Linked DNA regions of Homo sapiens: all the other regions are linked to region 1. The links are contacts of gene promoters, found by promoter capture Hi-C in blood cells and fetal thymus (Javierre and others, 2016). All regions are on one chromosome and are shown on one strand. Each heading gives the region's core, a stretch centred on a gene start or on the middle of the fragment in contact. The rest is flanking DNA. Distances are from core to core; before and after follow the strand shown.

Evidence for each region. Contacts are between HindIII fragments. The CHiCAGO score rates a contact against its expected background, and 5 or more counts as called.
Region 2: the fragment with the promoter of NAF1 here is called in contact with the fragment with the promoter of TRIM61 in region 1 in 7 of 17 cell types (non-activated CD4 T cells, naive CD8 T cells, fetal thymus and 4 more); the score reaches 19.2 in non-activated CD4 T cells.
Region 3: a contact is called between a fragment that was not itself captured here and the fragment with the promoter of TRIM61 in region 1, in 2 of 17 cell types (naive CD8 T cells and naive B cells). The highest score is 6.4, in naive CD8 T cells.
Region 4: a contact is called between a fragment that was not itself captured here and the fragment with the promoter of TRIM61 in region 1, in 1 of 17 cell types (naive CD8 T cells). The highest score is 6.3, in naive CD8 T cells.

Annotation. Positions count from the first base shown.
Region 1 is chr4:164,976,299-164,979,026 of GRCh38, forward strand. TRIM61 (tripartite motif containing 61) reads right to left here and starts at 1,359. Exons shown (of 3, transcript NM_001414904.1): 1 at 1,233-1,359; 2 at 390-527. RefSeq lists enhancers at 1,468-1,547, 1,578-1,637. The HindIII fragment of the contact is 561 bases long and covers 1,027-1,587 here.
Region 2 is chr4:163,165,531-163,168,258 of GRCh38, forward strand. It overlaps NAF1 (nuclear assembly factor 1 ribonucleoprotein), which reads right to left and starts at 1,360. Exons shown (of 8, transcript NM_138386.3): 1 at 833-1,360. The coding sequence starts at 1,197. RefSeq lists enhancers at 505-1,372, 864-943, 974-1,093, 1,114-1,313. The HindIII fragment of the contact is 3,845 bases long and covers 1-2,507 here.
Region 3 is chr4:163,483,789-163,486,516 of GRCh38, forward strand. No RefSeq gene overlaps it. Among named protein-coding and RNA genes, the nearest start is that of TMA16, 9.5 kb to the right of the region's middle. The HindIII fragment of the contact is 1,390 bases long and covers 658-2,047 here.
Region 4 is chr4:163,505,033-163,507,760 of GRCh38, forward strand. It overlaps TMA16 (translation machinery associated 16 homolog), which reads left to right. Exons shown (of 7, transcript NM_018352.3): 2 at 2,001-2,113. Among named protein-coding and RNA genes, the nearest start is that of TMA16, 12 kb to the left of the region's middle. The HindIII fragment of the contact is 3,133 bases long and covers 1-2,728 here.

The DNA.
Region 1 (2,728 bases), core at 109-2,608:
GTCTCTGTCTTATTTCTTTTCTCAGTCTCTCGTCCCACCCGACTAGAAATACCCACAGGTGTGGAGGGGCAGGCCACCCCTTCATAAAGGACACAAGAGGACTCACTCCAGGTATCATTGTGCCCTCCTTTCCCCAAGCATACACCCAAAGCAGTCTTCTCTACTATTTAAAATCAGGACATTAAGTGAACAGAACAGCTCTGTAGGCACAGTCACCACCCTAGTTTAAACCACTTATGTCTCTCTCCTAGATACACAATGGTGCCTCCAATTTCTGAAGTCTGTAGCTAAACTGACCTTTTCAAATACAAACAGAATCCTTTCATATTTCAACTGAAAACATTCCACTGGTCCTTTATTACTTTATGGAAGCAATTCTCAAATCTTACCTTGCATTATAATCACCTGGAGGTCTTGGTAAAAGATTGCCTGGGCCACATCCCCAGTTTCTGACTCAGTAGGGCTGGTTTTTTCCTAAGTTCCCAGATGATGCTGCTGGCCTGCGGACTGTACTTTGTGAACCTATGCTTTAAGGAAAACAAAGCAAAAAGATCCATTAAGATCTAGTCCAAGTTTTTTGCCTAGCTCCCATCATGTCACATATCACAGTTATGTGATTTTACAGCTACTCTGCAATTCTTTACCTAACTGTAAAAACCCCTCACCAGGCAGCAAGCTTCTTGGTGGCAATACGTCTCTAGCTTGTTTGAGGAATAAATAAAACCTGTGGTAGATTCCAAGCTCTCAGTTTCAACCATCATCATACTGGCTGATTCTTAACATGCCTGCACCTAAAGCGCCTCATCTACAAAGTTGAAATGATAATTCGTACCTGTAAGACCCTTGTGAGGATTACAGGATGCTTACATAGGTCGAGGGTGCAGACGACGTAGGCTGGTGGGTTCTCAACTGGCAGCTACCACTTCGCTCCCTTAACTCCCCAACCCCCACTCCCAAACACGTACATTAACTCTTTGAAGATAACATAGCCACTTCATAAACCCTAATTCAGATCATAACATTTAAAGCTTAATTGATACAGGCTCAACACCCCCATTCTAACTCTACAATCCTGAATTTTTCACAAGAGCTACGCCAGACACTAAGGAGATCCAGTCGTGGGCAGGCAGCGACCCGGAGGTTTAGGCACAGAGAATGTTCAAGAAGCCCCTGTCCAGTTAAGCCTCCTGGCGAGGCCCTTCTGGGCCTTTCCTGCGGCCTTCCCAGCTCACCTGGAGCAGACGGATCAGCAAATCCGGCCAAAGAATACTCAGGACCCACCGAGCCCCCGCGAGGAAGGACTCATACCCCAACCCCACCAAGTGGGCTGCTTCCTGCCTGGGGCTCAGCCTGCGCGGTGGTTGGCAGTTGCCCCGGAAGTGGGCGGGAAGGACCTGCGCATGCTCTGTGACCCTGGGTGCAGGGATTGTGTGAAGATTGAGAGCTGGGGGCGCCCTCTTCCGTGATCAGGGCCCCGTTGGCCCCAACTGGCATTTAATTCCCCTGGCTGTCTTTTCGGATTCTTATCACTTTTTATGTATATGAGTAAACTTGAGGGTCCAAGTAAGTCTGCAAGTTGGTTTTAAAAGCTTCACCAGCACAGCGTCCCCTCCCAGATGGTGAGGGAGTGGAGAGCTTTGCAGGGTCAACTGCTTCCCGTAGCCTGGGGTCGCAGGGTGGAGTCGTTGAGCACTCCCTATGCTTGAAAGAGGAATAGAAGCCCCTTTGGATTAGTTTGCATCTCAGTGGGTGAGTGGGTGGATCTCTCCCACCCTGTGGGATTGTGCCCTACCCTATGAACTCAGGTTTACCTGAGGAAGTGACATTTCAGGCGGAATTTGAGGGATGAAGAGGCATTCGTTGGATCAATTCCACGGTCAAAGTCTTCAAGGCTGGAAGAAGAGCCAATGTGGAGCCTCTCAACTTTAAAGAATTTAGTACAGGCCGGGCATAGTGGCTCACACCTGTAATCCAAGCACTTTCAGAGGCAGAGGTGGGAGGATCGCTTGAGGCCAGGAGTTCAGGACAAGCCTAGGTAACATTGCCAGACCCTGCGTCTACAAAATATTTTAGAAATGATTTTTTTTTCTTTTAATAAGAGACGGAATCTCTCTTTCGCCCAGGCTGGAGTGCAGTGGCGCGATCTTGGCTCTCTGCAACCTCTGCCTCCCAGTTTCAAGCAATTCTCCTGCCTCTGTCTCCCGAGTAGCTGGGTCTATAGGCGCACGCCGCCACGCCTGGCTAATTTTTTGTTGTTGTATTTTTAGTAGAGACGGGGTTTCATCGTGTTGCCCAGGCTGGATTCGAACTCCTGAGATCAGGCAATCCGCCCGCCTCGGCCTCCCAAAAGTGCCAGGATTACAGGCGTGAGCCACCTCACCCAGCCAGAAATGATAATTTTATTTTTATTTTTATTTTTTTTTTGAGACGGAGTCTCGCTCTGTGGCCCAGGCTGGAGTGCAGTTGCGTGATCTCGGCTCACTGCAAGCTCCGCCTCCCGGGTTCACGCCATTCTCCTGCCTCAGCCTCCAGAGTAGCTGGGACTACAGGTGCCTGCCACCACGCCCAGCTAATTTTTTGTATTTTTAGTGGAGACGGGGTTTCACCGTGTTAGCCAGGATGGTGTCGATTTCCTGACCTCGTGATCCGCCCGCCTCGGCCTCCCAAAGTGCTAGGAGTACAGGCGTGAGCCACCGCGCCCTGCCTAGAGATGATAATTTTTAAAAAC
Region 2 (2,728 bases), core at 110-2,609, 1.8 Mb before region 1:
AGTACATTTCATACCCTCTCCTTCTACTCAAATCCTTCAGCCTTCTTCACTTCCACTCTCCGCTGATGACTTCCCTGAAAACTAAACTTCTCACCTCCTCAACACGTGTCTATCTTGTTAACCTGTTCAGTACCCCACTCAACACACTCAACTATTTGTAGACAATGTTCAGTGTGGTTTAGTAACATCCCACATGCTGGAGTCCTCTCCAGCCCAGAGATTTCATATTTAAAAGACAGGTGTGGGGGCAAGGGGGAAAGGCTCTCACAAAACGTAAGAAGCATAAGATACTACTAAATAACACTGTTTGGCTACTTTCATAAACACGTGTTCCCTGCAAGGATTCTATAAATTAACGTAATCATCAAGAGCCAGCTTTGAAACACAAAAAATAATACTTTTCCTGATCCCCAATGTATGTGGTTCAAAAAACAAAGCCTAGATGTGATGATAAAAAAAAATCAGATCTGACACAAAACTCAACTATAACCACAAAAGTACAGCCTAAACTGAGTAGTTACGGAAATAACCTAAGATCCTCGGGTTTTCTAAAGTCTAACAAAAAATGATACGATCTATACATAGAACCCTTCAGGCCACCAAATTTAGGAAATAAGTCAGTACTAAGCTCAGATTCACAACGCGACCTGCTTTGAGAGGCAGCGAATAAGGGGCAGTCGGAGCCAATACTTCAACACGTGAGCCCGGAGCACCAACGACCTGCCCACCCTCCAGGGCCCACACAAGCAACCTCTAGGCTCCTAGGCCCCAGCCACCCCCGCCCGTCATACAAGACCTCTCCCCACAGCTCCGGGTCCCTTAGGCACCCGACCTGTCCGAGTCCGAATCCGAGTCCGAGGTCTCCAAGGAGTCCGGCGCCCGCGCAGGCTCTGCGGCTCCTGGGGAGGTGACGCAGTCTCCGCAGGCCGGCGATTCAGCCGGTGGCTGTGGCTGCGGCGCCGGGGTCCCGGCCGCGACGGCGTTCAGAACGGGCTGCAGAGGCTGCTCCCCGGCAGGCTTAACCTCCACGGTCTGCCCAGCGTCCGGGGACCCCTCAAACGACTGTAGCGGCGGCTGTGTCCCTGGCACAGGGGCAGAGCCCGGAGACGGAGCCGCCGGACCTTCCCCAACTCCAAAGTCGGTGCCATTGAATTTCAGAGTTTCCAGCTGAGCGGCGGCGGCCTCCACTACCTCCATCGCACCGCGCCAGAAACCGGGTCGGCCTCAGGATTGGGGCCCCTGGACAAGCTCACGGCTCTCTCCAGAAATAGAAAAACAACTTAGGCAACCGCAGCAACACTGCCTGGGCCCAACTTCCCGCGTTTCTCAGGTAACTACACGCGGAGGAGCCAAAAGACACGCCCCCGCCATTTACGCAGCAACGCTTTCCGAAGAGCGTGTGACGTATGTGGCGCGACGGCGCGACGGCGCTCGCGGGGGCAGGATACATGCGTCATATCTTCGAAAATCAGGATTAGGGGGTCGGGCGCCGTGGCTCACGCTCGTAATCCCAGCACTTTGGGAGACCGAGGTGGGCGGATCACAAGGTCAGGAGTTCACAGACCAGCCTGCCCAACATGGTGAAACCCCATCTCTACTAAAAATACAAAAATTAGCTGGGCATGGTGGCGCGTGCCTGTAATTCCCACTACTTGGGAGGCTGAGGCAGGAGAATCGCTTGAACCCAGCAGGCGGAAGTTGGAGTGAGCCGAGACCGCGCCACTGCACTCCAGCCTGGCGAGAAAGCGAGACTCCGTCTCAAAAAAAAATAATCAGGACTAGGGAGGCCCTAAATCGACCGTTTTCACTGCGTCATGTGAACCATTCAAGGCCTGAATGTCGGATTTTCCTATTGCTGCATGTGAACCAATTCTGCTTGAAGCGCCAAAATGAAGCAGGGATTATACAACAGGGGGGTGCCTGAAGAATGCTAAGTTCTGTACATCAGAAACTTGAGCCAGGAAGTCTTGACAAGACGCTAGTAACTTCATGAAAGTTAAATGAAGTTTATCCATCAATAGATCCATCTGTCGATAGATAGGGTATTAACCATTTTTTCAAAAATGTAACTACAACTATTCCATTTTCCTTTCTCCAAAGTACCCTCAAAGAGAGCAGTAATGGACAAAATTTTGCTGTGTTGTTCATGTTATGGTGATGTCTATATCATACTTAGCACTGTTTCGTAGTAGAGAGATGAGACTATGAGACTGAAATGTACTCACTTATTGTTGGAAACCACTAGTCTAAATTGTGGAGAAAGCAAGCAGAGTTCTTAGGACTGAGGAAGAGATCAGAATTTTCTGGTTTCCTATTAGGTCTTCAGTTTGAGGCATCAGTCCCTGTGTAGTAATAATAATCATTGATACCATTTGTTAAACATGCATATGTGCCAAGGACTGTGCTAAAGATTTTATAAATTATTCACTGAGAATTTAGTGTGTCATCTACAACAGTAGATCTTCATAGAAATGCAAGGCAAGTGTAATAAGAGTAAGGTTTTAAGAAGCTTACAATCTACTTGAAGTAGAGAAGGGCAATGCACAGGAGATAACTAGAAAAATATTTGAAATATGAAATAGAAAATCCAAGTGCAGCAGAAATGGGAAGTAGGATTGGTAGGCTATTTCATGGAAATCCTCCAAAGTGAAGAAGGACTTTAAACTTGGGATACGAACTTACTAGCACAATGATTAAGCAGAGCTCAGAGTTTTCAACTAAAAAGACC
Region 3 (2,728 bases), core at 103-2,602, 1.5 Mb before region 1:
CCTCATTTTTACCTTTCTGTAAAGACCCTAAAACTACCTCTGTAAAGATCTCCAGATAGGGTCACATTCTAAGATACTAGTGGTTAGGACTTCAATGTATCTTTTGGGGGGACACAATTCAATCCATAACACTTGGCTTGTAGCGGCATAACCACAACATTTACATGGAGTCTCCCTGTGTACATGTCTGAGTCCAAATTTCTTTTCATAAGGACACCAGTCATATTGGATTAGTGGCCTACACTTCTGTAGTAGGACCTCAAGTAATTATATCTACAGTGACCCTGTAAGGCTCTTTGTGACCCAAATAAGGTCACATTCTGAGGTACTGGGGGTTAGGACTTCAACATATTAATTTAGTGGGAGAGGTGGGGGAGGCACAATTCAACCTACAACAATGAAGATTCACCTAAAGTATTCATTGCTCTAAAAAACTCAATACATTTTAGGAAAATCTATCACATATTCATATATTCATAAAGATATGTGACTTATAACGCCTTATAAATATGACAATGAGAGAACAAAAACATTATCAAACTCAGTTTTTATTGATTCTGCTACTACGTAGATGTGGTTAAGACAAGGCATCCTAAAACAAAATTTAATAAAATGATCTTAACAAGAATAACCAAAATTTCCTTCTTTCGACTTCAAAGCTTCCTTTCATTAACATTGTTCTTAAAAGAGAAATAACACTTGCAGCCTAATCTCAATTATCAACTTGTATATTTTGGTTTGCATCAGCATATCTCTAATGCACCACTTTATTGGTGCATTATTGCCACTGTACTCATTAAATTCAGCTTTCCCCAGTCCTCCTCATTTTAATTGGAAAAAAGCTAAAAAATACACTGTTTTGAAAAATTCAAACACTGTAGAAGAATACAATGAAAGGTCCTTTCCTGAGCGCCCTACCTCAATCCTAATCTCGTAAATTACAAACAGCATATTGTAACTCCATCCACATATTTTCTATGCATGAATGGGCATATATATGTCTTCATTCCACATTTTATTGTAAATGGGATTTATTTTGCACATTGTTTTATAACTCATTTTTTTCTACCTAACAATTTTAGAGCATTTTTCCACACAGGTACATATCAATCTAACTCATTTCTTTAAAACAGCGGCAGATAATTCTTTGTAACAAATTTAACTTGTGTAAGGAGTTAAATATGTTACAAAGGGGATTTGGACGACCACCAGATGGCACTAGCACACAGTTTATTTGGGCAGAGATTGACAGATTTGCCTGGGGGTGAGGGTGGGGGTTGGGGTGAGGACAGGGGCAGTTTCTCAGTGACAGCATGATACCTTCCAAAGGCAAGGGTGCACAGGCGACTTTCCAGAAGGGACATAGAGGAAGATCTGAGGGAGAGTATTTAGAGGGGGTTATGTGTCTAGGTGGTGTCACTCAGCAGCATGGTGGGAGTCTCTGGGCAAAGAACTCTGAGAGAAGCAGTGGCCCCAGCGTTTATCTAATCTATGGGACCTATGGTTAGCAGATGTTGGGTGCAGTTTCTCAGGATGTGCAAAGCAGGCAGGCTGTAAATGGCTAACAATCTGCTTTTGGGGGCTATATTTTAAAACAACTGGATGTGTAGAAATTTAAGTTTGGCCGTAGCCGGCTTTTGAGTTAAGAAGTCCCAGGCTGCTGTGAAGAAGTAAACAACACAGGGCCAGGGGCCATTTTAACTCATTTTTGTAACAACTAGCTCCTTATTGAAAGGCACTTTATGATTTTTCCCAAGCCAAAAAGAAAAGAAGAGTCACAAACAGGTCAAAAGAAAAATTACTAATTTATATATGACAAAAGTCTAATTTTATAAGTATAATCAGGACTCCTAGAAATAAGAAAAATGATAAATTAGCACAGCTGTCTCCAAAATCAACCTTGAAAACTACAGAAACAGGAAGAAATTGGCTGTTGGAAGTAAATGAAGACTGTGAGAAACCCCTGGGAAGAAGGGAACTAGTGACTAGAAGGGAGGGAGGCAGCCGAAGAGCACAGCAGTCACATGGGGAGGAGGATGTCCCTGGAAGCTTGGGAGGCTCTGGGGAGGTCATATATAATCTTAGCTCTTGTCTCCCGTACTTCACCTGGGAAGCTTTGCTGCCCTCCCAGTGTTGTGAAGCACTACCAGAGGAGCACAAGGCCAGGCTAATAAGGAGCTGATAGAAATAGGACTAGGATGAATTGTACCCTGGAATGTTCAGGCCTCCAACTCCTGTCAGCAGAGGTTATTGGTCCCTGGAGCTCTCTCCTCTGAAACTTAACCCTTCTGCTTTCCTCAAATTCTCAAAAAAGGATTCAGTTGAGAATGTGTCTTTGAGCACTTCCCTAATAGACAACACAGAGCAGTATAGCTGATTTCATCAGTAAATTAATGTGATGCTACAGGTTCAAAGAAACTAGGTACCTATATTAGTCCATTTTCACACTGCTATAAAGATACTACCGGAAACTGGGTAATTTATAAACAAAAGAAGTTTAATTGACTCACACTTCCGCATGGCTGAAGAAGCCTCAGGAAATTTATGATCATGGCAGAAGGTGAAGGGAAGCAAGGCACATCTGACATGGTGGCAGGAGAGAGAGACAGCAAGCATAGGAAATGACAGACACTTATCAAATAACCATGTCTTATGAGAATTCCCTCACTATCACAAGAGCAACATAGGGGAAACTGCCCCCACGATCCAATCACCTCCCACCAGGTCC
Region 4 (2,728 bases), core at 98-2,597, 1.5 Mb before region 1:
AATTGGCATTTCATTGCTTTTGCTAAATGCTCTTCATTAAAAGTGAGTCGGTAGGTCCAGCCCACATTCAAAAGGAGGGGATTCCATAAGGGCATGAGGATCAGGAGGTGGGGTTTATTGGGTCCATCTTAGAGGCAGCCTGCCAAATGTCCTGAAAGTTTTTACTTGATTCATGTTTGCTAGGTACTTTAATCTCAAAAATTCCTCATTACACCTGCCTTTCTCCTCTGCACTTGCCATGTGAGCAGAGAGATACATAAAAGAGTACATATACTCTTATATGATGGTTCTACATATTTTCCTATACCTGTAACCAACTTCCAGTGATACCTTAAGATTCAGATGTGGATATATCTTCTCAGGTTTATCAGAAAGCGAGCAGAGCGCTCAATGAGTGTTGAAAGAATGAATATATTTGTGAATGAGGAATTTGTGGTTATTTTAAATAGTTCTGCCTAGTTTTACAAAGGAAGTAATTTTGAACTGCATCTTATCAAAGGGCAAGTAAAGTATTTTGCAGGCAGAGGTAATAACAAGTGCAGTCTCAAGAAGTTATGAAATAGCTTGGTATGTTCTGGAATGGTGAGAAGTTCAGTAAGAATGGCGTGAAGAATCTTTTATAGAGGAGCATGGGAAATAATGGTGGAGAAGCAGGTTGGGGCTAGATTGTTTCTGTGCTAAAGACTTGGGACCTAACTGTGAGCTAGTAGAGCACTTTAAGCAGGGGAGAGGGACTTTACTATATTAGTGTTTTATGAAGACAAGCTCTGTAGCTTTGCCGAAGAAAGGACTAGTGGGGAGAATCTAAAGACTATCCTGATTATGAAAGATTCTGAGGATTGAATTAAGCAATTGACAATAATTTTGAAGAAGAGTGTAAAGCCACTTGGCCTTTTTCTGGAATAGGTATGTTGGAGACTGCCAGCTGTCCCCTAATGTATTCTTTCTGTTTTTCTATATGAATGGATCTTTTTCTCACAGAATAAGGATTATATTTACTACTCTCCCTTATGTAACACTGTGAATAAATTTTGGTCAGTGGGATGTGAGCAAAAGGATCTGCAACTTCCCAGGTCATGCTCTTAAAAAAAGGGGATGTACCTTCAGATTTTTCTTTTCCTACTTCATACTGGCTTGAGTGTAGACCTGGTATTAGGCTGTCTTGAACTAGATAGGAGGTATAGCCTGAGGCTAGTAGACAAAAAAATGGAAGGATCCTGGATCCCTAAGGGCTTTGTGGAACAGAACCTTCAGCTCCTACTTTTAACAATAAAGAACCAAACTTAAGCTGGGTTATGCCATTATTTGGGGTTTTTATTACAGAGAGCCAAATATGATTCCTAGATCATTATAGGTGAGGTAAGATACAGGATTATGTAGGAATAAAAGAAACCTGAGATGTCTAGTTTGGAGGACCTAATGAATTGTGGGCTGATTAACTGGCATAAGGCTTCAGTGGGAAAATGATACATTTTTCCTTTTGGATATACTAATTTTGAGATGGCTTCTATTATTTTCTCTATTCCTAATTTGTACAGGCAATGAGCCCAGCTTTGATTTTGCATGATTCATTGCCCGCTTTGTTCCATGTGAAACATCTACAATCAAGCCCCTACTAATAATCCAAGTCCCTTCTGACCCCTTAATTTTCTTAACTGTAACAAATTTCTGGCTGTGAGTCTCCTCACTATCTGTAGTCCCTGTATCTTCTTTGAAGATAGAACATGTTGTTGAAGAGCTGAGTTTATTGACTCCTTCTGTGCCTTTCTTCTGTCATTGGAGAGCACCTCTGAATATATCGTTTCTGTCATTACCATGGCAACAGATTATTAGAATTATTTAATGATCCTGGCTTATCTCCTGATTTTTCTTGTAATAGTTTTAGCTTACTGTATTTCTGTCATATTACTGTTTTTAAAATTTATTTGTAAAGAATATTTTTGGGACTGAAGGCACTTACATATCTGACTATATGTGTCATGTGTTTTCATACATTTTAGCCCAAAGCACCAAAGGGAAAAAGTGCAGGACGGGAAAAAAAAGTCATCCATCCATATAGTAGAAAAGCAGCTCAAATTACGAGAGAGGCCCACAAACAAGAAAAAAAGGAAAAGTAAGTATCTTTTCATCATTTGTATTACTCGTTGGTAAAAAGCCCCTTTATACTTTTATCTTTCAAACATATATCCTTTCACAGTATTGTCTCCCTTTCATAAATATTTATTAAGTGTGTTCTGTATGCAGAGGGTGAAACTGAACAAGGACTCTACTCTTTTAGAGCTTACCTAAAACAGATAAGTAATTTATGTAGCAGTAGGTGATGAGTGCCATGAAAAATTTAAAAAGTTATGGGATGGACAGTGAGGGAGAAGTTGTTTTACGTGGGATAGTCATGGAAGCCTTCTCTGAAGAAGTTACATTTGAACAGAGAGTTGAAAAATGTGAGGTCTGTATATAAGGCATGTAGGTTAAAGTGCCCATGAGACATGTAAGAGGAGATATGGAATGGATAGTTAGATATGTTGAGTCTAGTGTTCAGAGAATAGGTTAGGGGTATTGACACAAATTTGGGAGCGATCAGCATCCATGTGGGATTTCAAGCCGTGAGACTGGATAGGATCAGTTCACCTAAGGAGTAACTGTTGACAGGAAAGAGAAGAGAGCCAATTACTGAGTTCAGTGGCCCTCTACCATTTAGAGGTTAGGAAAAGAAGGAGCATTCCACAAG